Regions from separate parts of the Homo sapiens genome. Here regions 1, 3, 4, 5, 6 and 7 are each linked to region 2. Evidence: promoter capture Hi-C in 16 types of primary human blood cells and fetal thymus (Javierre and others, 2016). All regions are on one chromosome and are shown on one strand. The core of a region is centred on a gene start or on the middle of the fragment in contact, and the rest is flanking DNA. Distances in the headings are between cores, read along the strand shown. Region 1 overlaps CCN4 (cellular communication network factor 4). Region 2 holds the start of TG (thyroglobulin). Region 3 overlaps LOC105375771 (a long non-coding RNA gene). Region 4 has its middle 13 kb from the start of CCN4. Region 5 overlaps NDRG1 (N-myc downstream regulated 1). Region 6 overlaps LOC105375771 (a long non-coding RNA gene). Region 7 has its middle 23 kb from the start of NDRG1.

What was found. Contacts are between HindIII fragments. The CHiCAGO score rates a contact against its expected background, and 5 or more counts as called.
Region 1: a fragment that was not itself captured here is called in contact with the fragment with the promoter of TG in region 2 in 15 of 17 cell types (activated CD4 T cells, total CD8 T cells, naive CD4 T cells and 12 more); the score reaches 15.7 in activated CD4 T cells.
Region 3: a fragment that was not itself captured here is called in contact with the fragment with the promoter of TG in region 2 in 2 of 17 cell types (activated CD4 T cells and naive B cells); the score reaches 5.1 in activated CD4 T cells.
Region 4: a fragment that was not itself captured here is called in contact with the fragment with the promoter of TG in region 2 in 12 of 17 cell types (activated CD4 T cells, naive CD4 T cells, naive CD8 T cells and 9 more); the score reaches 9.1 in activated CD4 T cells.
Region 5: a fragment that was not itself captured here is called in contact with the fragment with the promoter of TG in region 2 in 6 of 17 cell types (naive B cells, total CD8 T cells, activated CD4 T cells and 3 more); the score reaches 7.2 in naive B cells.
Region 6: a contact is called between a fragment that was not itself captured here and the fragment with the promoter of TG in region 2, in 5 of 17 cell types (non-activated CD4 T cells, naive CD4 T cells, monocytes and 2 more). The highest score is 6.8, in non-activated CD4 T cells.
Region 7: a fragment that was not itself captured here is called in contact with the fragment with the promoter of TG in region 2 in 1 of 17 cell types (activated CD4 T cells); the score reaches 5.4 in activated CD4 T cells.

The regions. Positions count from the first base shown.
Region 1 is chr8:133,219,954-133,223,510 of GRCh38, forward strand. It overlaps CCN4 (cellular communication network factor 4), which reads left to right. Exons shown (of 5, transcript NM_003882.4): 3 at 628-888. Among named protein-coding and RNA genes, the nearest start is that of CCN4, 31 kb to the left of the region's middle. RefSeq lists an enhancer at 2,785-3,286. The HindIII fragment of the contact is 1,239 bases long and covers 1,257-2,495 here.
Region 2 is chr8:132,865,121-132,868,312 of GRCh38, forward strand. TG (thyroglobulin) reads left to right here and starts at 1,838. Exons shown (of 48, transcript NM_003235.5): 1 at 1,838-1,947; 2 at 2,995-3,103. The coding sequence starts at 1,881. The HindIII fragment of the contact is 3,355 bases long and covers 1-2,395 here.
Region 3 is chr8:133,347,674-133,351,009 of GRCh38, forward strand. All of the region lies in intron 2 of LOC105375771 (a long non-coding RNA gene), which reads right to left. Among named protein-coding and RNA genes, the nearest start is that of NDRG1, 52 kb to the left of the region's middle. The HindIII fragment of the contact is 8,125 bases long and covers 1-3,336 here.
Region 4 is chr8:133,176,185-133,179,680 of GRCh38, forward strand. No RefSeq gene overlaps it. Among named protein-coding and RNA genes, the nearest start is that of CCN4, 13 kb to the right of the region's middle. The HindIII fragment of the contact is 1,779 bases long and covers 978-2,756 here.
Region 5 is chr8:133,237,041-133,240,208 of GRCh38, forward strand. NDRG1 (N-myc downstream regulated 1) reads right to left here. Exons shown (of 16, transcript NM_006096.4): 16 at 135-2,079. The coding sequence ends at 1,838. Among named protein-coding and RNA genes, the nearest start is that of CCN4, 48 kb to the left of the region's middle. The HindIII fragment of the contact is 510 bases long and covers 1,212-1,721 here.
Region 6 is chr8:133,368,576-133,371,948 of GRCh38, forward strand. All of the region lies in intron 1 of LOC105375771 (a long non-coding RNA gene), which reads right to left. Among named protein-coding and RNA genes, the nearest start is that of NDRG1, 73 kb to the left of the region's middle. The HindIII fragment of the contact is 2,753 bases long and covers 383-3,135 here.
Region 7 is chr8:133,319,000-133,322,121 of GRCh38, forward strand. No RefSeq gene overlaps it. Among named protein-coding and RNA genes, the nearest start is that of NDRG1, 23 kb to the left of the region's middle. The HindIII fragment of the contact is 853 bases long and covers 1,133-1,985 here.

The sequences.
Region 1 (3,557 bases), core at 626-3,125, 350 kb after region 2:
CTAAACAGGGAAAGGGTTATTAATAAATTTGCAACTGTCTCCCCCCGCCCAACTCCCCCTCCCTGCTCCACTTTTCTCCCAGACACTTGTAACTGCCAACATTCCATATGACCTTTCCACAGCATAAGCTCTTTGAGGGCATGTCTTTTGTCTGTTTTGTCCACTATTGAGTCCCCAGCACATAGAAGGCTCCATGAATGTGTATGGAATGAATGGAACACGTGTTTCGAAGTGTTCTGGCTTTTTTTTTACAAGTCGGTCACCTTCAGAACCATGAGCCCTAATGGCAGGTCTTTGTCAGTACCAGGCTTTGTGCCTGGTGCTGGGGACCCTGCAGGGAGCAAACCAGCCAAGTCCCTCGGGAGGCTGCGTCCTTCCACTCCCTGGGTGCTGGCTGAAGCTATAAAGGAACTCCTGCACTCCCTTTGCTGAAGTTCCACCAAACACTCAGCCCTGCCCTGTGCACTCTCACACCTCCCTGCCTTTGCCTTTGTGCCTCTGTTCCTCCTCCATGCTGGGAGCCATCCCCGGGATTGGGGCATGGTCCACATGGAGCCCCTATAAAGGCAGCTGGGCCAGCCAGGGGCACCAAGGCCACTGGGCCTGACCGGCCACCTGTGTTTGCAGAGGTGGTCGGTGTGGGCTGCGTCCTGGATGGGGTGCGCTACAACAACGGCCAGTCCTTCCAGCCTAACTGCAAGTACAACTGCACGTGCATCGACGGCGCGGTGGGCTGCACACCACTGTGCCTCCGAGTGCGCCCCCCGCGTCTCTGGTGCCCCCACCCGCGGCGCGTGAGCATACCTGGCCACTGCTGTGAGCAGTGGGTATGTGAGGACGACGCCAAGAGGCCACGCAAGACCGCACCCCGTGACACAGGAGCCTTCGGTGGGTGTGGGCCCGAGTGGGCTGGGGGTGGGACCCTACAAATGGGTTGTGGACCCTCCTGGAACTCTGACCACCATAGAATGACTCATTCCCCAGTCCACTACCTACTAGCTTTGTGACCTTGAGAAAGTCATACCTCCCCTGAGACCCTATTTCCCCATCTGTAAAACAGAAATAATCCCATCTGTCTAGTCTGTCCTGTGGGATCCTCCCAGCATAAAATGAGGAGTGCTTTGTAAAGAACAAAGCCCTAAAAGTGCAATCCATTATTATCCTACTAAAGAGTTAGGGATGGGTGGTGGAAGAAGGGTAGGTATGTGGGTACCTGAGGAGAGGAGGTATGAGCAAGAGGAGATGGGTCTAGTAGAAGCTTCATGATGATTTGGGGCTTCCCCCTTGCTATGAAGATGGGTGGGCAGGTGAGATTTCAGCCAGGTAAACCAGATAAGAGGAAGCCCTGGAAAAGAAGAGTGGGGACAGGCCCAATTGTTTCACTGCTGCTTACTGGAATCTAGCCCAGTGCCATACACTTAGCAGGTATCCAATTAATGTTTGTCATACTGATGGGTGGGCAGATGGATGGATGAAGAATAGATAGATGGGCGGGTGGATGGATGGATGGATGGATTGGTGAAGAGATGGATGGATAAATAGATGAATGTATAAATAGATGAGTGGATGGATAGATGACGGATGAATAGGTGGATGATGGATGGATGGAAGGATGATGAATGAATGGGTGGATTAATAGATGGATGGATAAATGGATGTATGAATAGATGGGTGGATTGATGAGTGGATAGATGAATTGATGGATAGGTGTATAAATAGATAGATGGGTGAGTAGATGGGTGGATAGATGAATAGACAGATGAATGTATGAATGGATGGATGGATGGATATATGTATAAATAACTAGATGAGTGGACAGGTGGATGGATGAATGGATGGATGGATGAATTGATAAATGGACAGATGGATGAATAGATAGATGGATTTATAAAAAATTGGATGATTGGATGGATAGATGATGGACAAATAGGTGAATGATGGATGGGTCAATTAATGGATGGATGGAGGATGGATGGATGGATGGATGGATAGATGTATAAATAAGTAGACGAGGGGACAGATGGATGGATGAATGGATGGATGGATGGATGAATGGATGAACTGAATGGATGGGTGGATGAATAGGTAGATAGATGTATAAATAAATGGATGATTGGATGGATAGATGACGGACAAATAGGTGAATGATGGATGGATCAATTAATGGATGGATGGATGGAGGATGGATGGATGGATGAATGGGTGGGTAGGTGGATAGATGGATGGGCTAATGAGGATCTGAACTAGGGCAGTGGGAGTAGAGGCAGTGAAGAAGGAACAGACACAAGAGGCATTGCTTGAGTAAGACTGAAGGTCTTAATGTCAATCTAATGCATGGGGTGAAGAAGAAAGAGGGACAGAGGCTGACTCCCAGGGCTTGTCATTGCCTAGGATCAAATACAAGAGAAGGAGCACATTTGGGCCAAGGGAGATCTACTCTGTTTGAAACAGACTGAGTTTAAGGCAGAGTGCCCTGCCCACGGGATCTTAAGAGAAGCTTCCAGTTTCTCTTTATGGGGAGGAAGGAGACGAAATAGGAGAGCTCTGAAGTCATCTGCTTGGAGCTGCTGGTGGTGATGGCTGGGATGGCCTGAGGGTAACATCCACAGTGAGACAGAGGGGGCCTGAGGCAGAGGTCTGGGAATGCTGACATGTGAAGGGTGAGCAGAATAAGAGGAGGCATGGGGAAACAGAGAGGAGGGTTGGGATGTATGAAGAAAACCAGGAGCATCTGATGCCATGGCAGGCAGCAGATGAGGACATTTCTAGAGGAAAGTGCTTACGAGGCAAGCAGTAGAGAGCAGTAGAAAAATGGCAATAGAGTGGGAGTTCTAAGAGTATTGGTAGTTTTTTTAAAAAAAATTATATATGCTAAAGATTGCTCAGGGACGGTGTGGGGCAGGTTTCTCAAGCTCGGCACTGTCAACATCTTGGATGAAGGAATTCTTTGTGGTGGGGTTGTCATGTGCACTGGAGGATGTTTAGTAGCAATCTAATGCATGACTACTAAATCCCAGCAATCTAATCCCTGGCCTCTACCCACTAGATGCCAGAAGCGCCCGCTCCCTCAGAGATGTGACAACCAAAATCATCTCCAGACCTTTCCAAATACACCCTAGGAGACAAAATTGCTCGGTGGAGAAGCAGTCCTGTGAGGATAGGAGGAGGCGTGGAGGAAAGCTTTGTCCCCAGCAGCCCCAGGGCAGCAAGGCAGCTCTCCCACCACCACCTCCCCAGGAGGGCCACACGAGGGTCACGGGGGGAGCAGGGAGGCAGAAGCTGTCTGCCATTGTGTCTGGCCCAGTGACCCTGTTCTGACCGAGCACAAGCGGAGCCCCTGCCTAGCCGAGGTGACCCAAAAACCAAAGCCTCTTTATCCTCCTGGGCAATTCCCTCCCCACCACCTCCCAAGATGCTTGCAGCTCCAGCTCCTGTCAGCCCTGCCCCTCCTGTCCTTGGATGCCTCCCATTTCAGGTCTTTCCCTCTCTCACTCAGTGATTCCTGCATTCATTCATCAATGTTCCCAGCACACCTATAAGCTTAGAGGAACTGACTT
Region 2 (3,192 bases), core at 588-3,087:
TGTTTTTAATCCCATACCCTGACACTTCAAATGACTGTTGTGTTTTACTTTCTCTAGTTTATATCAGGAACCCAACAATGATGACAGTAGCTGTTATGGACTGAATTGTGTTCTCCCCCCAAATCCATATGCTGAAGTCCTAAAACCAGGACCTCAGAATGTGACCGCATTTGAAGGTAGGGTCTTTAAAGAGGTAATTAAGTGCACAATGAGGTCACAAGGATGGGCTCTAATCCAATATGACTGGTGTACTTAAAAGAAATAAATATTAAGACACAAACACACACAGGGAAGACCAAGTGAGGATACAGGGAGGAGATGGCCATCTGCAAGCCCAGGAGAGGAGTCTCCAAAGAAACCAACAGTGCTGACACTTTGATCTTGGATTTCCAGCCTTCAGAACTATGAGAAAATAAATTTCTGTTACTTAAGCCACCCAGTCTGTGATAGTTTGTGATGACACCCATAGCAGACTAGTACAGTAGCTAACACTGGATACTTATTATGTGTCAAATACTGTTTTAAGCACTTTGCATATTTTAACACATTTAATATTCATAGCAACCCTATTTGTGGAAGGTAGTACAGTCTACGGCACGGCAGCTATATCGGCCCCTTTATTTTCCCCAGGGTTTGGAGTCTCTTCCACTTTCCAGCTTGTCCTCCTGCCCTTCACTCTACCCGGGACCATATCCTCCAGATTCTCACAGGTCCCTCCATCTCTCCTCAGGTGCCAGGCTCAGCAACCTGCCCTCATTACCTGCCAGTTCCTGACCCTATCTGTCACTAGCTCCTTACCTGGCTGGATTGGTCTTCTGAATACTTGCCATTCCCTGGCATGATGCTTTTGCAAAATAAGAAAATCAATAATAATAATAATAACTGCTAGTGTCTAATAAGCATGTGCTCTTCAATGTCTATTCTCTTACAACTACCTTAACAAATAGGGACATATTATTATTCTCCTTTTAACTTTGCTTTCCAGAGAAGGAGGCTGGGGCTCAGGGAGATGAGGTGAGTTTTTCCAGGTCTCACAGGAACAGGACTGAAGGAAGGAAGCCATGTTTGCCAGGAGAAACCAAATGGACATACAGGCTTTCTGTGGAATACACAGTTCCTGCTATCTTTTGGTTGACAAAGTCTGAGGTCCTAGGAAAGAGAGGAAAGTAATAGAAATATGAATATGAGTGTGTGTGTATTTTGCTTCCCTCACCAAAGTTTTCACAGTCTATATTAATGAGGGCACGATTTTGCCTGTTTTGTTCTCTGCCATATCCTCATTGTCTAGATTAGGTGCCTGCTACTGTGGAGCTCTAAGAGGTTGTTAGAGAAAGAATAGAAGAAAGAAAAGAAGGAAGGAAGGAAAGAAGGAAGAAAGAAAAGAAAGAGGGAAGGAAGGAAAGAAAGAAGGAAGAATGAAAGGAAAGAAGGATAGAAGGGAGAAAGGAAGGAAAGAAGAAAGAAAGGAAGAAAGGAAAGAAGGAAGGAGGAAGGAGAAGGAGAAAGGGTAGGGTGGGGAAGGAAAGAACAAAGGATTGCTTTTCCCTCACTGTGGGCTTGAGCCTGTTCCCTCCAAAGATACAGAGCTTTGGTCTTTACCCATAAAAAAGGATTTTGAAGTCACCCCACCCCGTTCTGTTCCCCCACAGTTTAGACAAGATCCTCATGCTCCACTGGCCACACGAGTGCCCTCAGGAGGAGTAGACACAGGTGGAGGGAGCTCCTTTTGACCAGCAGAGAAAACAGGATGGGGCACTGCCTCACTGAGGACCTGGGGGTGGGAAGGAAAGTGCCAACGGCAGCTCTATAAAAGCTCCCTGGCCAGGGGACCTAGGGCAAGCAGTGGTTTCTCCTCCTTCCTCCCAGGAAGGGCCAGGAAAATGGCCCTGGTCCTGGAGATCTTCACCCTGCTGGCCTCCATCTGCTGGGTGTCGGCCAATATCTTCGGTAAGTTCTGAGGCCATGGAGCCAGGCGGTGGGGAGGGAGCTCCAGTGTCAGCCAGGCTCTGCCCTGGGCCTTCGAACAGGTGCGATCTAATTTAATCTTCACAAATTCCCACATGTCAGTGATTTGCTTTTTTTTTTTCAGATGAAGAGGCAGATTTAGAGAGCCGAACTGAATTACTTGAGGTCACAGAGCTAGTGATTGATGGAGCAGAAATGGGAAATGTGGTTGATCTTCCTAATTCAATTCTAGGTCCTCCTCACCCCACCATTTTGGCAAACTTTTGGCATTGACCTTGGGTTTTTATCCCCTTAGCTATTCCAAAGTCTGTGTCATCCATAACAGGTATTTTAGAAGCAGTAGAAAAAGAAATCTACCTATGAAGTGAAATAGCCCTAAGTTCTGTCTTTGGCTCAGCCACTTACCCATATGACTTCGGGCAAAGTGCCAAGCTTCTGTTTTTTTTTTTTTTTTTTCATTTAAAAAGTAAACAAATAACACACACCTCATGATGCGGTTGTGATTTCTGGGTAGGACCCTATGTGTTACAAGAGTTCTCAATGGAAAAATAAGTCATGTACATTATTAATTAATTGGTATTTCAATGTTTATCTGGAACATGTTACATCTGCAGGGCATGGCTTGATAGATTCAAGAAGAACTTCCTTACGGTTCTCTAACTTACTCCAAATAGCCTCATGGGAATTGCGGCAGGGTGGGGGCGGGCGGGGAACGTGTAGTCCCAGCGTTGATTTTGGGATCCTTCACTTGCCAGTTACGTGACTTTGGGCAGACGACTTTCGCTGCCTGAGACTTGGTGCCTCATGAGTGACAAGGATATATTGCCTGTCACCTCTTAGGAGAATGTTGCACATTAAATGAGCTAATGTCATACTTGTAAGAAAGTGTGCTTAGCTGCCAAATTTTAAAATAGGCTGTCATAGGTAATGATGATGACCCTGGAAAAGCATCTGTGCTTATGAGAGCCCGTCTCTGTCCTGGCAGCCCAGTCCACACTCTTCTTTGATGAACCACTTTTCTTTTCCTAGAGTACCAGGTGGATGCCCAGCCCCTTCGTCCCTGTGAGCTGCAGAGGGAAACGGCCTTTCTGAAGCAAGCAGACTACGTGCCCCAGTGTGCAGAGGATGGCAGCTTCCAGTAAGGCTTATGTCAGCAGCGAACTCTCAAGGTCCAAGATGCCATAAAAAGCATCTTGTGCCTTCCCCCCTCTTCCTGAGCTCTGCCCT
Region 3 (3,336 bases), core at 627-3,126, 480 kb after region 2:
TGCTCCTCCTTGCCTTCCGCCATGATTGTGAGGCCTCCCCAGCCATGTGGAACTATAAGTCCATTAAACCTCTTTCTTTTGTAAATTGCCCAGTCTCAGGTATGTCTTTATCAGCAGCCCATCTGCAAGCCACGATGAGAGGCCTCAGAAGAAGGTCACCCTGCCAAAGCCTTCATTTTGGACTTCCAGCCTCCAGAATTGTGAGAAAATAAACAAATTTCTGTTGTTTAGGTCTGTGTTATGTCTTACGGCAGCACAAGCAAACTAATATAGCAGTTAATCTGTGACACATTCCCAGCGTTTAGGAATCCTTATCATTAAACATTACAGGTGAAGAAGGTGAGGTTAGAACAGATTAAGTCACCTGTCCAAGGTCATCCTATTAGAAAATGGCAGAGCAGACGCTCAGACCAAAAACTGTCTTATGTCAAACTCCCACACCAAACTGTCCTCCAAAAAATGTCAACAGAAACACCAACATACTCAGAATGTTGTATGGACTGGGAATGGTATAAGATTCCTGCCCTCTGCCCCACTTTCTTGTGAAATTTTCTCCAGACCTGAGAGGACCAATAAATGACCCCTCCCTCACTCAACACTTCTGTCCTCTCTGGGCCACATATATTGGGGTTAAGAACATGGAATTTGGAGTTAAACTGGCCAGGATCTGAGCTCCTGGTGACTTAGCCATGGGTTTGCTGTGTGAAGCTGGGTGTGTTATTTAACCTCTCTGAGCCTCATTTTCCTCATGGAGAAGATTCATTTGCTCTCAACCTTGTGAAGTAACTGTGGGAACTCAGGAGACAAAAGCTGTAGCTCATGGCCCAGAGCTTGGCCCCAAGGGGGACCCAGTAACTCAGAAGACTCAGGGCAGGAGCCCCAGGGCAGCTCTTCTCTCTGGGCTGGCCTCAGCAGCATCCCCCTCTCCCCTAAGAGGTATCTTGGCCACCAAGGGGCTGAGTCTCACTGGGCTGTGTATCTTCAGAGCACAGCTCAGTGCCTGGCTCCTAGTAGACCCTTGGGAAATATGGGTTGTACAAATTCAAGTGGAAAGAGTAAATAGAAAAACAAATCTGATTGGAAACTTCTGTGATGCTGTTTGTGCTTTTAGATATAATCTCCTGGAATCCTCTTATTATTTTAGTAATTTAGAATTTTATTAAGCTCCTTAAGAAGATGCCAGTCGACCTTGTGGTACTACAGGGTGCTGGCCCATTCCAGAGCTGAGCTTCAAAGTGGGTCGGTGGCCTAGGTATAGTATTCTCTCTCATGGGATCTGAACTCTAGGTCTTGTGATTCACACAAACATATGCGGGGTGGCCCTCAGATGTAATTTAAGGAACCTCTCCAAGGGACAGGGCCAACTCTGGCTGGAAGTGCCATAAGTCCACTAGTAGGGTGGGCAGAAAGAAAAGACATGTGGGTGTGAAAAGACATGTGTGTGTGATGTTCCTCTCCCACCACGGGAAGCATCCAGGGTGCCAAGGCTGGCCCACACCACCTCTGTGACCTCCCTTCCCTACCCTGCCAACATCCAGTCTACTCAACACTATATCGTGCATTTGAAGCCCGGCAATCGTTTTCTAGGGCACGACTTAGAAACTGGGACATAGATCACTATTGATTGGTGAAGACCAAGAGCATTTCCTCACAGGGCAGAAAAGGTCATTGGCAATTCATTTATTCATTCACCCATGCATTCACTCACTCAAGAAATGCTCTGATCAAGTGCTTGCTGACCTGGGGGTTGGAAAATAAGTGAGACCTGGTCTCTGCCCTCTAGACACTTCTGGCCAAACACAAACAAGCATGACGCTAAATGCCCACAGTGGTGTGTGCTTTGCAGAGCCAGGTATGGCACTGGGGGAATAAGGGGTCAGCATCTTAACCAACCTAGTGTGAGGGAAGGGAAGGAAGGGGGCAGGGGGACAGGATGGTCTAATTAATAGAAGTGCTGGTCTTTAGGTTCCTGCTCATGAAAATACAGCATATACACCATCATCTTTATTCTCCTAAGAACTCCAACAAGATTTAATTCTCAGCCCTCATTTTACAGACAGAGTATCAAGGTTGACAGAGGTGGGGTAATTTTTCCTAACAAGAAAATGATGCAGATGGGATCTGCACCCAGATGCCTGATGCTGAGTCCAGCCACTACCATCAGACAATCAGGAAGGGGCAGATGCAACTAAGACAGAAACTCAAAAGCTGAGAAGGGGAAGAGCAGCCCATCAGAGCTGCAGTTAGCATGGCAGAGCAGGGGAAAGGGTGAGATATGGTAGGGCAGAGGGGGAGGATTGAGACCTAAGGGCTCTCGCCTGGAGCCTCCATTAGCTCAGGGTGGGGCAATGCCCAGAGAAGTGAAGGGAATTGTCAAAGATGCATGAACCCAGGGGCAGAGCAAGAATTTTGACCCAGCATTCTCTGCATGAGAACCTGCTGTTCTTGGCTGGGTGTGCTGGCTCATGCCTGAAATCCCAGCACTTTGGGAGGCTGAGGCAGGTGGATAACTTAAGGCCAGGAGTCTGAGGCCAGCCTGACCAACATGGTGAAACCCTGTATCTACTAAAAATGCAAAAAATTAGTCGGGTGTGGTGTGGTGGCACACACCTGACACATGGAAGGCTGAGGCATGAGAATCATTTGAACCTGGGAGGCGGAGGTTGCAGTGAGCCAAGGTTGCGCCACTGCACCCCAGCCTGGGTTACAAAGCAAGACTCTGTCTCAAAAACAAAACAAACAAACAAGCAAAAAACTGCTGCTCTTTCCTCTGCAGGGGCTGCCTGGCCAGCCCTGGTCAACCTTGGGCCTGAGAGGAGCCAAGGTCAGCTGGGCAGTGAGGTGGGGGATATGGGAGGGAAAGAACCAGTATCTGCTTTTTTTCTCTTCTAGTTAAATAAAAGCTCAAATAACAAAGGTGCTACCTAAGCCCTAAGCCCTCGTGCGCACAAGGCCATATCCAGATGGATTCGCTAGGCTGGTTGGTCGAACTCCTCTGGAGACGGGGCCAAAGCTGGCAAATATTTAACCAGGGAGGGGACGGGTAGGTCCCATGCTTCCCCAGACCTGCACGACTCAGCCCTAGCGATGACCCCAGGTACTTGGAAAAAGTGCTGTGTGAGATTTCTGCCTGAATCTGCCTCCCTGTCCCCTACCACTGTGGTCTGGGGGTGTCTCCAAGCAGCTGCAAGCCTGAAAAGTGCAGGATCCATCTTTTGCTGGAAAGAAAACTTCTCCAGACCCTCAGCACTGAACAGCTGAGGTGAAGAAATCTTCTACAATCAGGGCATAAACGCTTAGAGGGAAGGTTTATTGTCTCTTCTTTACAGATGGGGA
Region 4 (3,496 bases), core at 617-3,116, 310 kb after region 2:
GCCTTCTTAGTGTTCGAAACTCAAGAGCCCTTGGCCAAATTCAGAGTTTATGTCTGATTCCAGCGGCTGACCCCTAATATTGAGGCAATCTGAGCATCATTGCTCAGGGAAGAGAGTGCCTTGTCACAATCCTGCCACAGACCTGTCATTTGTCAACCCAGAACATGTTCCCCATGCTCCGTGGAGGAAACAGAAACCCAGTGGCGACCAGGCTTCCCCAGACCTCAGGCCACACTCTTCTGGGTTGAGTCAAGCCTGGTCTAACCTCCACCCTGCCTTGCCCCACATCCACTTGCCAGTCCTTGGAGAATTTGCACTTGTGGTTGACTTAAGGGAATTTGGCGAGAGCGCATGCAGAGAGCCAGAGTGCCAGTCCAGAGGCTCAAGCACGTTCAAATCCAACAGGTGTGTGAGGATGGCGGGGGTCCAGGGGTCAGATCTCCACTTTGTGTGTACAGCACACCAGCTTTACAATCTCCCCGAAGGGGCCAAGTGACTACAGATTCTGAATCACGATTTATAGCTCTGATTGTCTAGCAGGTGCCCTGCACACTGTGCATACTAGCACCATGCCCAGAAAAAAATCCTGATGGTGCCAATCAACATTTGTTTGTGGGTGGATAAAGGGCTGAGCTAACCCAAATGTCTGGTTTCAAATTCTAGCTCTGTTGCTTTTCAGCCATCTGTTATGGGCTGAATTGTGTCCATCTCAAAGTTTTTATGTTGAAGTCCTAACCCCCAGTTCATCAGAATGTGTATTTGCAGGTAGGGTCTTTCCAGATGCAATTGCATAAAGCAAGGTCATGTGGGTGGGCCCTAACCCAATATAATTGGTGTCATTATAAGAAGAGATTAGAACACAGACACGTGCAAAAGGGAGACCATGTGAAGACACAGAGCGGAGACAGCCATCTCCAAGGCAAGGAGAGAGGCCTCAGGAGAAACCAATCCTGCCAACACCTTGATTTTAGACTTCAAGCTTCCAGAACTGTGAGAAAATAAATTTCTGTTGTTCAAGCCAACAAAGTCTGTGCTACTTCATTTCAGCAGCCCTAGCAAACTAACACAGCATGGAATCTCTCTGAGCCTCAGTTTATTTCCCTGATCTCCTGTTTTCACAGCTGTAAAATGGGCATCATAATACCTGATATTGTAAGATTATTTTGAAAATAGAATGAATCATAAACTTAAAAGTGCCTGGAACATGGGAGATTTCCCCCAAATTTCAGTTCCTCTCCCTTTCTTTTCTGTGACCAATTTTTAATTTGTTCTTCTCCATTGCTGAATAGTATTCCATGGCATGGCTATGCTAAAGTTTCTTTAAACAATTACCCATTGAAAGGCATCATGGTTTCTTCCAGTTTTGGGTTATTACAATTAAAGCTGCTATGAATGATCCTGTAAAGGTTTCTGGGCAGACGTAAGTTTTCCTTCCTTCCTCCTCTTTCTCCCTTGTCTTCTTTCCCCCATCTCCTCCTCCCTCTCCTCTTCTTTTCATTTTCTTTCTCCTCTCCTTCTTCATCCTCCCTCTCCTCTTCTTTCTCCTCTTTTATCCTCCTCCTTTTCCTCTTATTTCTCTTCTACATCTCTTTCCCCTCCTCTCCTGCTCCTTCTCCTTTTCCAACCTCTCTGAAATTTGTTGCACTGTCCTGGATGCAGAGGAGTGAGGCTAACTGAATTTTCCAGTCTACAGCTCGTTATCATCCATGCAGCACTTGTTCGCCTTTTGGCTCCTGTGTTGCCCTTCCACCCCAGTCCCTCTCCAATCCTCTCCTTCACAGCCATAGGAAGCATCTCTAACATGTGTGTCTCTGAACATGTACATGTACATTGCAGGATGAGGTGCATCTGATTCTAATTCACATCACTGGTGCTGACTGGAGGTCTCCTCCCCGTTTTACTTCTTTCATTCAGCTCTGGGTATCAACTGTTTCCCTGTTGTTCTATGCACATCCATCTCTTGTTTTGAATGGCTGCTTTTACTTTCCTTTCCTTCAAATCAGATGCCTAGGCTGCCTCCTGCTCCTTGTCACTGCAAGCAATACCTGGATAAGTATCTTCCTGCATGTCCTTTTATGGTCCTTGGGAAAATGTCTCAGGGGCGTACACACAGAAGGCCATAGGGCACATGATTGCTTCATTTTATTAAGCAATGCTAGATTGTTCTGCAGAAGAGCTGCCCAACATACATTGGGAGGAGGGGTGTGGCCATGCAGGCTTCCCATTTTTAGTGGGTCATCTCCAGGAAGCAGGGGGAGTGAGAGGGTGTGGTTTTAAGAAAGCAATGAATCCCAGCCCTTGGTCCCAAGCATCCAGCACTTGACAAACAAGACCACCCATGGCAGATACCACATTTCCCATCCAGAGCTTGGGAGAACTGGATCTATAATAGAATATCATGTGCCTAGAATGTTTTTCTCCCTAGAGCAAGGACATGAACCAGTAGGAGATATATAGATATACATATACATTTAGAGATAGAGGTAGAGATATGGACAGATTTATATATAATTGACTTCTGTTACTATGAGGGCTTGCAGGTCCAAAATCCATAGGGCAGGCCTGCAGACTGGAGACCTTCAGGAAGGAGTGGATACTGAAGTACACATTTTTCCACCTAAATGTGGAATAGGGAAAAACTGTCTACTTGGACTTGTCCCTACAGACAGGACAATAGGCACTCAATGCTGGGCCCTTTCTTAGCCCTCCACCATATACCCATCTAGGATATTCTGGCCCTCATTAATCAAATTTCAAGCTTCTTCCCAATCTCTTTTTTCTTCCTTCCTTACCCTCCCTTCTCTCCTCCATCCATCTCCCCATCCCCGTGCTATTCAGTCACAGCACAATGATGGAGACTACAGACACTGTAGAGTGAACCCAGCATGGCCTCCCAGGCTTCTAATCCTAGCTTGTTGTCTATTAGCTGGATGACCTTGGGCAAGTTACTTAACCCCTCTGTGCTTCACATCTCTTTCTTGCCAAACAAGGATAATAGCAATAGAATCTACATTATCAGGTTTTTCTAAAATTACATGGCTTATCACATAAAAGGAACATAGAACAGGGTTGGCTCGTGGTAAGTTCTAAGTAAATAGGAGTTAATATTAGTATTTATGACAAGAACAAGGATTACAGCCTTTACTTCTATAGGTAAAAAGGGATGAAGAACAAGGAAACAAATACAATTCATTGTGGGAAGGTAAGACAGCAGGAGAACTTAGGTGGGTGAACAATACATAGTGGACATGGAAAAATGCCATGAACTAATACAATAACAGTTAAGTGAAAGGATTGAGACAGAGCGTTTAACTCTGTCTCTGGGGTCTCCAAAGGTGAGTTGGATTGCATGTGCCAATTTGGCTGAGGTTGAGAATGTTAACAACTAGAACCCCCTTCTCTGTATAATTCCAAATAGATGTATCCAAAAGTAAAACTTGAATGAGATTAGAAGGACAGAAGTAAGGATGAAGTGATAACTCTAGAAGATCAACAT
Region 5 (3,168 bases), core at 217-2,716, 370 kb after region 2:
AAAGAATTCCAGAGATGAGGGGCTGGGGTCCCCTAGGTGTCAAGGACGGGCAACCCCCCAGTGAAACAGCCATCCCTGCACTGCAATGTTTCACACACACAATCTCTCAGGGACAGAAAAAAGACACAAGCCGCTGCAAAGTTACAAATTTATTGGTCTGGAAATAAATACAAATATCTCATTAAGAAACTCCTCTGGAAAGACTTGTGCACAATAGTTTCCCATCCGTACTCAGCCTCTCTTGCCCCGATCCCCGACTTTTCTACTCAAGGCCAGGGAAGGCCTCCAAGGTGATGGGCGGCAGGTAACGAGTCATTGCCTCTCACGCCACCTGGAAGGCTGGACTACTTCCTCCTCCCAACTGCGGGGTCCCAGAAATCCTCGGGTCCCAGTGGCTGACTTACAATATTCAATTCACTCTGACCAAACTTCCTATGAGAAAATCCACGGTGAGCCAAAATGAAAAGTACAAGGCAGTAGTACAGGAACCTGGCAGCCGCACTGGCCGCCCAGAAACGTCAGTGGTGCTGCCCCATTCGGCGAAAGGTTAGGGAGCAGGAAAAGAGGAAGCAGGAGAGGGAAGGAAAGTCCCATGGAATATGTATTCCAGAATCCTTACATTTTCTCAGCCACCGCTCCCCACGTGAGTTCCCACCCCCACCCCGACAAGAGCAAAGAGTTCTGAGGATCCAAGAACGTGACCGGGTCAGACAGGTTCAGCTACTGAGTTCACGTTCCAGCCCAGCTGTCGAAGATTGAAAACTGGATTTAAGCCAATCACACAAAATTCCTGGAACCAAGCTGGGATCCACAGAAATCACAACTGCACTGGATCTCAACACAACAACAAGGAATCCCTTACATCGAGTAACCCCAATTCCACCCCCACCCCAGTGCTCCTACTCCGGCCCCTGCAAGGACACTCATCACAGCCAGGGCAGCTGTGGAATGTTGCCCTCCATTCTAAGGAATGCAAAACAAATCTAAATGATCTTCTCCCTGAACAAGAATAATCACTGGCTCATGTATCAGGGGTGGGAGGTTGGGGCTGTGGAGGAGAGGCAGAAAGCAGAACTAAAGCCTTCAAAAACCATGATGCCCAACGTTTGCTGAAATATTTTTGTCTGTAAAGCCAGGAGATTTTGTCGCCTGCTTTTGCTGCACATTAAGAGGATGCTAGAAAAATCAAGCTTGTTTGCTTCTGCATTCAAAGCTTTCTAGATGCACCAACTTTAAAAATCGGTTTCTTCAAGTTAACTACGTAGATTTGTTGTTCCAAATGCCTCTAGCCTCGACATGAATCCCACCTTTTCCCCCTTCCTGTTTTGCCTGTTTAAAAGAGGTGCCTGCATGTCACTATTACCCCCCTCCCCAAATGAGAAAAGGATTTTGTTTCCGGAAACTGGATCAGCTTCTCCTCAGTTAAAGAGGAAACGGGAAGTGGGCGGCTGGCCTTCTGACCAGGCACCCGTTTGAACCAGGATGCTCAGGGCGGCCTAGGCTTGGCTTTGTGAAGTGTGTGCTGCTACGCGTCTTGTTTTTGGCAGTTTGGTGTCTCTGAGGGAGGGGAGGAGAGTGGCAACCGGCCACTGGTTAATGGAAGAGGATGCGATGCGGAGATGCTTGCTTCCTTCCTTTGGTCCACCGCCACCCCGCCTTTGGAGAGGGCACCCACGTAATAGACCTCATTTGTCTCCACCAGAGCTCACTCTTACAAAATAAGCTTTGGATTAATACCGAGTTAGGCGCAGTATGGCAGGCAGGGGGCGAAAAGGGGCCGGGGAGGAGGGGGCCACTACAGAGATCAGAGTCCGGGGGCGGCAGCTGGGCAGGCCGCCTAGCAGGAGACCTCCATGGACTTGGGCCCGGCGCTGTTCCCAGCAGCACCCGAGTTGGGGGTGATGTCCAGGTGGGCCCCCTCGCTGGTGTGCGAGCGGCTGCGGGTGCCCTCGCTGGTGTGGGAGCGGCTTCGGGTGCCCTCGCTGGTGTGGGAGCGGCTGCGGGTGCCATCCAGAGAAGTGACGCTGGAACCAGAGGCTGTGCGGGACCGCATCAGGCGGGTCATGCTAGCCGAGGGCACTAGGGGAACAAGAGACAGCCGGTTAGAGGGCAGGAGACTGCCAGGTGAGGAGCCAGGCATGCCCGTCCACCAGCCACATGCTCTTCTACGTGCCAGCCCCAGAGAAGACTTGATCCCTGCAGCCATCCAGCTGCTGGGCCCCCGTCCTCTCCATGTCCACTCGGAGAGAGAGATGGCAAGGCCCAGATGCGGGAAGGAACTGCCGCAATCACACCATGAGTGACTTGAACCCAGATCTGGGTCTGAACCCCAATTCTGCCACCTGTTAAAAGCTGTGTAATTTTGAGAGTGTCCCCCTGAGCCTCCCTGTTCCCATCTGTAAAGCAAGTATGTTAAATACTGACCCCTGGTATCAGCACCTGTGTGTACGCCCATGACCCCATGCTGTCCATGATCACTGGAGCAGGGAGGACACCTGGGGTCAGTGGCCCTGCACATCACAGGTGGGGAAAGGGAGAGGGGCCACACGGCAAGTTCCCGGCATGGCTATTCGTTGTCATCTCTCCCAAAGAAGCCTGTCAGCCCAGGTGCTAACAAGGGCGCTGTCTATTCTTTGGGATCTTCTCTGAGACCTCAAATGCTCTTGCACATGGCACGTGCAAGTGGCACATGCTGATGGGGTAGCACGTGCTGATGGGGTGGAATGAGGAGGAACAATCCTGCCCACCTGTACCGGGTGGGACAGTGTCCCGGAAGATTCACACCTACCTGAAACTTCAGAAGGGAACCTTATTTGGAAATAGGGTCTTTGCATATGTAATTAGTTAAGGATCTTGAGATGAAATCATCCTGGGTTGAGAGGGAACCCTAAACCCAATGACTGTGATGTCCTTATAGAAACAGCACACAGGGATATGCAGGGGAGAAGTCCACGCAAAGACAGAGGCTGAGATTGGAGTGATGCAGCCACAAGCCACATAAAGCCAAGGATTGCTGGGGCCACCAGAAGCCAGGAAGAGGCATGGAAGGTTCTTCCACAGCAGCGTTGGAGGGAGCAAGGCCCTGCCCACACCTTGATTTTGGACTTTAGGCCTCCTGAACTTTGAGAGAATGGATTTCTATTGTTTTCAGCCACCCAGTTTGTGGAG
Region 6 (3,373 bases), core at 509-3,008, 500 kb after region 2:
ATGTGAGGCCAAAGGTATGGAGGTGAGGTTGGAGAGGGTCTAGGTTGGCCATGGGGCATTGATGGCATCAGTGCATTTGGGGTCTTAGGGGCTATGAAAGGACTTGGTTTTAACCCTGAGAAGATGTAGTGTAGAGTAACCAGCTGACCCAGTTTGTACCAGATGGAGACGATTCCTGGCATATGGGAATTTCCATGCTACAATCAGGAAATAGACAAAAGAGAAGAGGCAGGAAGACTCAAAGTATGAGGCGATTGCAGTACCCTAGGCATGGGAAGATGGCAGCCTGGCCCAGAGAGGTAGTCATGAGGCAATAAGAACAGACATGGGCAATCCCTGCATGGCATGGTTTCCCCCAGCTGCATGGCATGGGCACCTTACAAGCTTCCCAAGGGTAATTTTGATTACACAAGACTTCGACATAACCAGTTATAAATTAACTGCTGCATAAAGTACAACTTCCTTGATGCCATATGTTCGGCAATGTCCCCTGGGTCCCATTCTGCCCAGCAACCACAGGCAAATGGGCAGGGTTTGAGTCCAAGGGGTCCTCATCATGAGGCTTCCCCCTGCCCCATGGCAATGTAGAATCTCCTCTGCCAAGCTGGTTTCAACTTCCTCCCACTTCACAGCTGTTGGGCCTTAAACTCTAGCCTTAAACAAGAAACACAGCACTGCCGGGAAAACCCAGGAAACTGGCACAGGCTCCCTGAACTCAGTGATTCCCCTGCTGGTTTTCTTCTCATGCCATATGGGCCAGCTGAGGCCAGTTCCCACAGTTTGCAAGGAGACTCCACGGTTCTTGGACACGTGTGTCTTGGTCCCTGTGGTGAAGGGACCACTTCCCCAGTGGGAGCCATGGAGACCCCCTGCTCTCTGTGTCCATGGGTTACTTTGGCAGTGGTTCCCTAGCACTGGCTAGGGACTGGACATTCAGAGAGAACTGGGGCAGCCCAGCCCCGCCCCTAGGAAGAGAGATGCAGCCCGCAGGGAGGGAGACATCACACACACTTCAGTTCAGTTGCAGGGAGCCAAAGTTCTGACAGATGGAGGCCCAAGGGGATGGGGAGGCTCAGAGGAGGCCCGGGTTCCTTCCTGGAGGAAGTGGCAGACAGAGGAGGACTAACCAGGGGCAGAAGGGGAGAGGACGTGTCCCAGGCAGCCCAACAGCTGGAGTGGGAACAGGAAGCCCCATGCCTGTGGTGTGGGGGTAAAGAGGCACAGAATTTCGGTTTTGCCAGAGTGAGAAAGTAAGACGGGAAGGAGCAGAAGGAGAGGAAGAGAGGCGAGGAAGTTGGCCTCCTCCCTATAGCAGGGAGCTTGTAGAAGTTTCCATGCCAGGCAGAGACAGGGGCATCTTTCTCTGAACCATCCCCCAACCCCAAGCCTTTGGCCACCTGAGCACCCAGCGGAGGCCCCTCTGCCTGCCCCTCACACTGCACATGAGCGCCCTGCACCCGCCTCTCAGCACTTTGCACCCTCCCCTCCCTGCTCCACCCTACCTGCAAGGAAACAAAAGGCACTTTCTCCTTCCTCCCATGACCCACTTTCCAGGGCCAAAGCAGGCTGCTGACTTGATAACCTCGGCCATAGGTACCCTGCCCACAATAACATGTTTGCTCACACCCAGATTCCAGTAGGGCAGGGCCCGATAACTGGAGTGATCTTCACCACAGTGCCTCAGATGCGAAAGGAAAGGGACCTCCCTCAAGGTCCCTCAGGTCCCACCAGGCCTGGAAGTAGGTTTCCAGACTGAGTCTCCCATCACTAAAGGTAATCAAGGATCGACCGTGGAAAGATAGAGATGGTCAGGGAGAATTGGGACCAGCCAACCTCCAGTCTCCAACCTCACAGGGTCTAATGCCCGAATTCGGTGTCTACCTCCTTGTTTATTCACTGCCAATCAGTCTGCAAGCATTCGCTGAGTGCCCCTGGGTGCCAGGCAAAGACGGGGCTGGCTTCCACTCCCAGCTCTGTCTCTCGCCAGCTGTGCAACCTGGGACACATAGCTTATCTCTGTGCCTCATCTACAAAGTGAGAATTCAGAGTTACTGTGAGGGTCAGAGATAAGGCATGCAAAGTTCCCTCTATACTGGAAGTGCTCAATAAATGCTAACTGTCATCATTCCTTAAGACATGAAGAGGTCTGAGAGCTCTGGAAAGTTCTGACATTATAGGGTATCTCTGCTGGCATCCCACAGGCCAGGAGGCCCTGGTATTAGCAACTTGCTCCTTTGCAGGGAGACAGCTGGTCCCACTGAAAATGTAGACACCCTTGTGGCCACACGTTCACCTGCATGCACGCACGCCTCACACTCAGCCCCCATGCCCTTATTACAGCAGTAGCTTTGAGGGGGCTATTATCCTCCCCAGTTGTATAGACACAGAGGTAGTGTGTCCAGGGCCACCCGGAAAGTATGCAGCAGCAAAAAGTATGAAGTCCAAGCCTCTCGGTTCCACAGACATGGTGCCTGGGCCATTTCCAGACATATCCGTGCATCCCATGGTGCTGCTCCTGGAGTGTCCTTCCTGGCTGTTCAAGCTCCAGCATTTCCTGCAGGCCCCAGTTCACAGGGTCCTCCCTGAGAGGGCTTCCTGTAGGTCCTAGCAGAGTTTTAGGTTTCCCCTCAGCTCCTGCAGACCTTGCACGTGGCTCTATTATGGCCTTTTGGAAAACCACCATTAATTACCTGTTTATGTCTCCATTCCCCTGATGTGGAGCTGCCCAAAGTCCAAGACCTTGACTTGAGAGGCAAATCTGTTATCTTTCAGACCTTATCTCGCTCTGCCCTGGGTCACAGTCATTTAGGTTTCTGCCTCATCTCCCTAGCGGGCTGTCCTCACTTTAAAATATTTTAAAAACCATTTTTGTGTCTATTAGCCAGACTTTTCCTAGCCACAACTAGGTTGAGGCTGACAGTTTCCAAACCACAGGTTGGGGGCATAGGCAGGAGGGGAACATGCTGAGGGAGAGGGGCAGGGGATTGCCATAGCCTGGGAAAGTTGGGGACAGGGAGGAGGGAAGAGAAGAGGAAGCAGGAGGAGGAGGAAGGAGGAAAAGAGAGAAAGGAAGAGGAGGAAGAGGGAGAGAGGAGAAAGAGGAAAAGAATGAGGAAGAGCAGAAAGGAAGGAGGAAGCTTAATGCATATAAAATGCACAGTGAAAACAGGGTTGACTGAGGTTCAAATGTGCCTCCCCGGGCAGGTCTTTCTCCAGCTCAGCTCTGGCTTCCCAGGGCCTTGTTTCCAGGTGCCCCTGTTCCAGGCCCACAGAGAGGCTCTTGTGTGGCTGATGCAAGTCGGCCATGGAGAAGCTGTTTCCAGTAGGCTCTTTGCTGGTGGAAACCTGCACCTGCCTAGGGTCTGGTACCACA
Region 7 (3,122 bases), core at 309-2,808, 450 kb after region 2:
AGGTGAAAGTATCTCATTGTCTTGATGCATTTGCATATCTTTTCTGTTGATGAGATGACATCATTTATGTCATGTAATTATATTTGTCCTCCAGGAATTACCAGTGAGAGATCCTATTATTAAAATATATAATCTCAAGAGCTTGTCCTGTCTCTATGTCCACCCATAAGTAATAAAAATCCCACCCCACCCTTTCTCTTCCCCACTCCACGTCTGGAACCATTTATCAGCTCCCAGACTTGAAGCCAAACCTGACCTCATTGCAAAGTCCTTGGTTGTGCTAATAAGCAGCTACCGGGAACTGGGCTAAGTCACTCCCCTCTCTGAGCCTCAGCTGACAAAGGCTTAGCAAATGAGAGAAACGTGGAAGTGGAATAGAATTATGAACTCTAACTTTAATAAACTAATATATGTTGAACATCTATTATATTCCAGGTACTGTGATAGATACTTTGCGTTCTTCATTTCTGAATTTTGTAACAACCCTGTGAAGCAAGTATTATAATCTCCATTTTACACATGAGGAAACTGAGGCTAAGAGAGGTGAAGTGACTTGCCCATGGTCCCACCGCTGGGAAGACTAACAGGCCTGGCTGATTCCCAAGAATCTGCTCTTTCTGGGAGGACCCAGTGCCATCAACATCTCTGGACAGGCATATGGAATGACTATCATTAAATGGTGTCTGGAGCATGTCTTATCAGAAATGTTCTTGGGGAATCCCTTTTTTCCCCTATGCTGGTCCTATTGCTGTTTTTTCCATGCACCCCTCCAGAATGTGGTGGGGACTCTTCCTTGCTGGAACACCTCTCCGCGGCTCAGGGCCCACTTTAGTTAAGCTCTGCAAGAATGAGAGGAGGCTCATCCCTCCTTTGGCTCTGTTCTTTGTCTTCACCTCCTGTTACCACCACTTTCCTCACCTCTTGGCTTCTCTGAGTCTCACCTGTCCAGGAAGCCCTCCATGATGAAAACTCAGAGTTAACCTGAAGACCTTTCAGAAGAAAAGAACAAGAAGAGAGGGCTTGCCATGACTAAATGTCAACCCTACACAGGGACTTCACCTACATCATTTCATGCAATTAGCACTCCAACTGTAGGAGTTATTATATCCACATTTTGCCAATGGGGAAGCTAAGCTTCAGGCAGGTAAATTTCTGGACCAAGTGTTCATGGCGAATGAGAAGAACTAATACTTATTTAGCATATAAGTACCAGGGATGGTTATAAACCACTTGTATGTAATAACCATAGTCTTCAACACATCTCCAAAAGGTAAGGTACTGTTTTTAACATCCCCACTGTATAAATGGAAATACCGAGGCAGAAAAAAAATAATTTGCCGAAGACGTCCAGTAGAGCTGGGATTGGAACCCAGGCAGTCAGTCAAGTGTGTCCCTAACCACCATTATCTGGATGACCCCAAACCTCCATGGTTTCTTTTTCCTAAGCAACCAAGTGTCTTCTGAATGCAAAGGTTGGTGGGGAAATGCTTGAAGTCAACATTCTTCCTGTGTAGTCTGAGGAACCTGACACCCAGAGAGAGTGTTCCTGGCTCTAGGTCCCAGGTCTTATGACTGCAGATCCAGTCTTACCACAATCCAGCCCACACTGCCTCTACTCAAAGGGAGAAAGGGCATTGCTGCTGATCTCACCTCCTCCCTGCCCCCTCGGTGGTGGTGGGCCAGGACTCTCTCTGAAACAGTGATCATGGTTTAATCACTAGGTGAGTAACCATGGGAGGCTTCCTGGCTGATTATTAATAGAAGCTGGAGAAGGTGTGCGTGTTTAGCAACAGGCCAGCAGTTTGGGATGCCAGGCTGGCTTGGTCTCTTGGTTTCTGGAGTCATCTGAATGATTTGACTCATCTCCTGGCTGAGGGCTTGGCTTCTTACTTCTGAGACACCCCATTCCCAAGGCAAATTGCTGCCTTGCCTCTCTCCTTACACTCATTTACATCATCTGTTTCCAGGCTGCCTGCAGGAACTGAAGCTTCTAGACAAAGAGACCTGGGTTTAATCCTTGCAGACCTTAGCTATATTGTCTAACCTCTTGGGACGTCAGTTTCCTCATCTTTGAAATGGGCATGCCAACATCCAACTTCTCATGAGGACTTATGGAGATGATTGCACAGCAGACATTCAGGAAGCTGCCACCATTGTGACTAGTACCATTCGGAGGCTGCCACGCTGGAACCTGCGGGCCACAGGCCCTAACAAAACTGTTCCTTTGCTGCAAATGTCTTTTCCAGGTCTTTCCCCCTTTTCTTCACATTGGGAGTGACGGTCCTATGGGGAAGAATAATGTGTTGCAATATTAGAGAGTGAGGTTCTTCTTTTTGTTTTTTTCAGCAGGGCTCTTGGGAAGAAACCTGGCCATTTGAGCCCACTTTACCTGGGGGTCAGGGTGACTGGGCCTAAAGCAAGACACAGTCATTGCTGGCTTTTGTTTTGATAAAACTTAAGGCATGAAAATATTTGATCAAGAATTCCAGAAGGGAAGGAGAGAAACTTAAAGTTGGAGAAGGAAGAACACTTTGCCTGAGCTGGGGGCAGGGTCTGGGGTTCTGTTAGCAGCAGGGACCCTTGCTCCTGCCCTAGGGAGGTAGACAGGCTGCTATGTCCTCAGCCCACCCTCTCTGGAGAGCCTGGTGCCCAGGCAGCAACCCCTGCTCTGAAGAAACCCTGAGTTCCCCAATGCCTGCCTGCTCTGTAACACAACCCGTGAAACTTTGCTTGACATTGGTGCAGGGGAACTGGGTGTCCGCTCATGACAGAGACTGAATTTCCCCACTGAGCCAGCGGAATGAGGACTGCAAGTCCCCACGGACTGAAAAAAAGTAAGAAAAATGGATATTTCTTGCACACCTGAACTTGTGACCTCAGATTTTTGCCCACCACCCCTGTGTTGGGACCTCTGCCTCACTGCAAGGGCCAGAGCAACAGTGCATGAAGCTCCCATGTAGAAAACAGGTCTTGAGAAGAAATGTCCATGATAATACAGTGGCTGCAGTTCTGCGAAGGAGAAGGCTAGACCTGTGCCGTTTAATACAACAACCGGTAGCCACACAGGTCTGTGTTTAAATTCATTCAAAGGAAATGAAATTAAAAATTAGCCATGTTTCAAG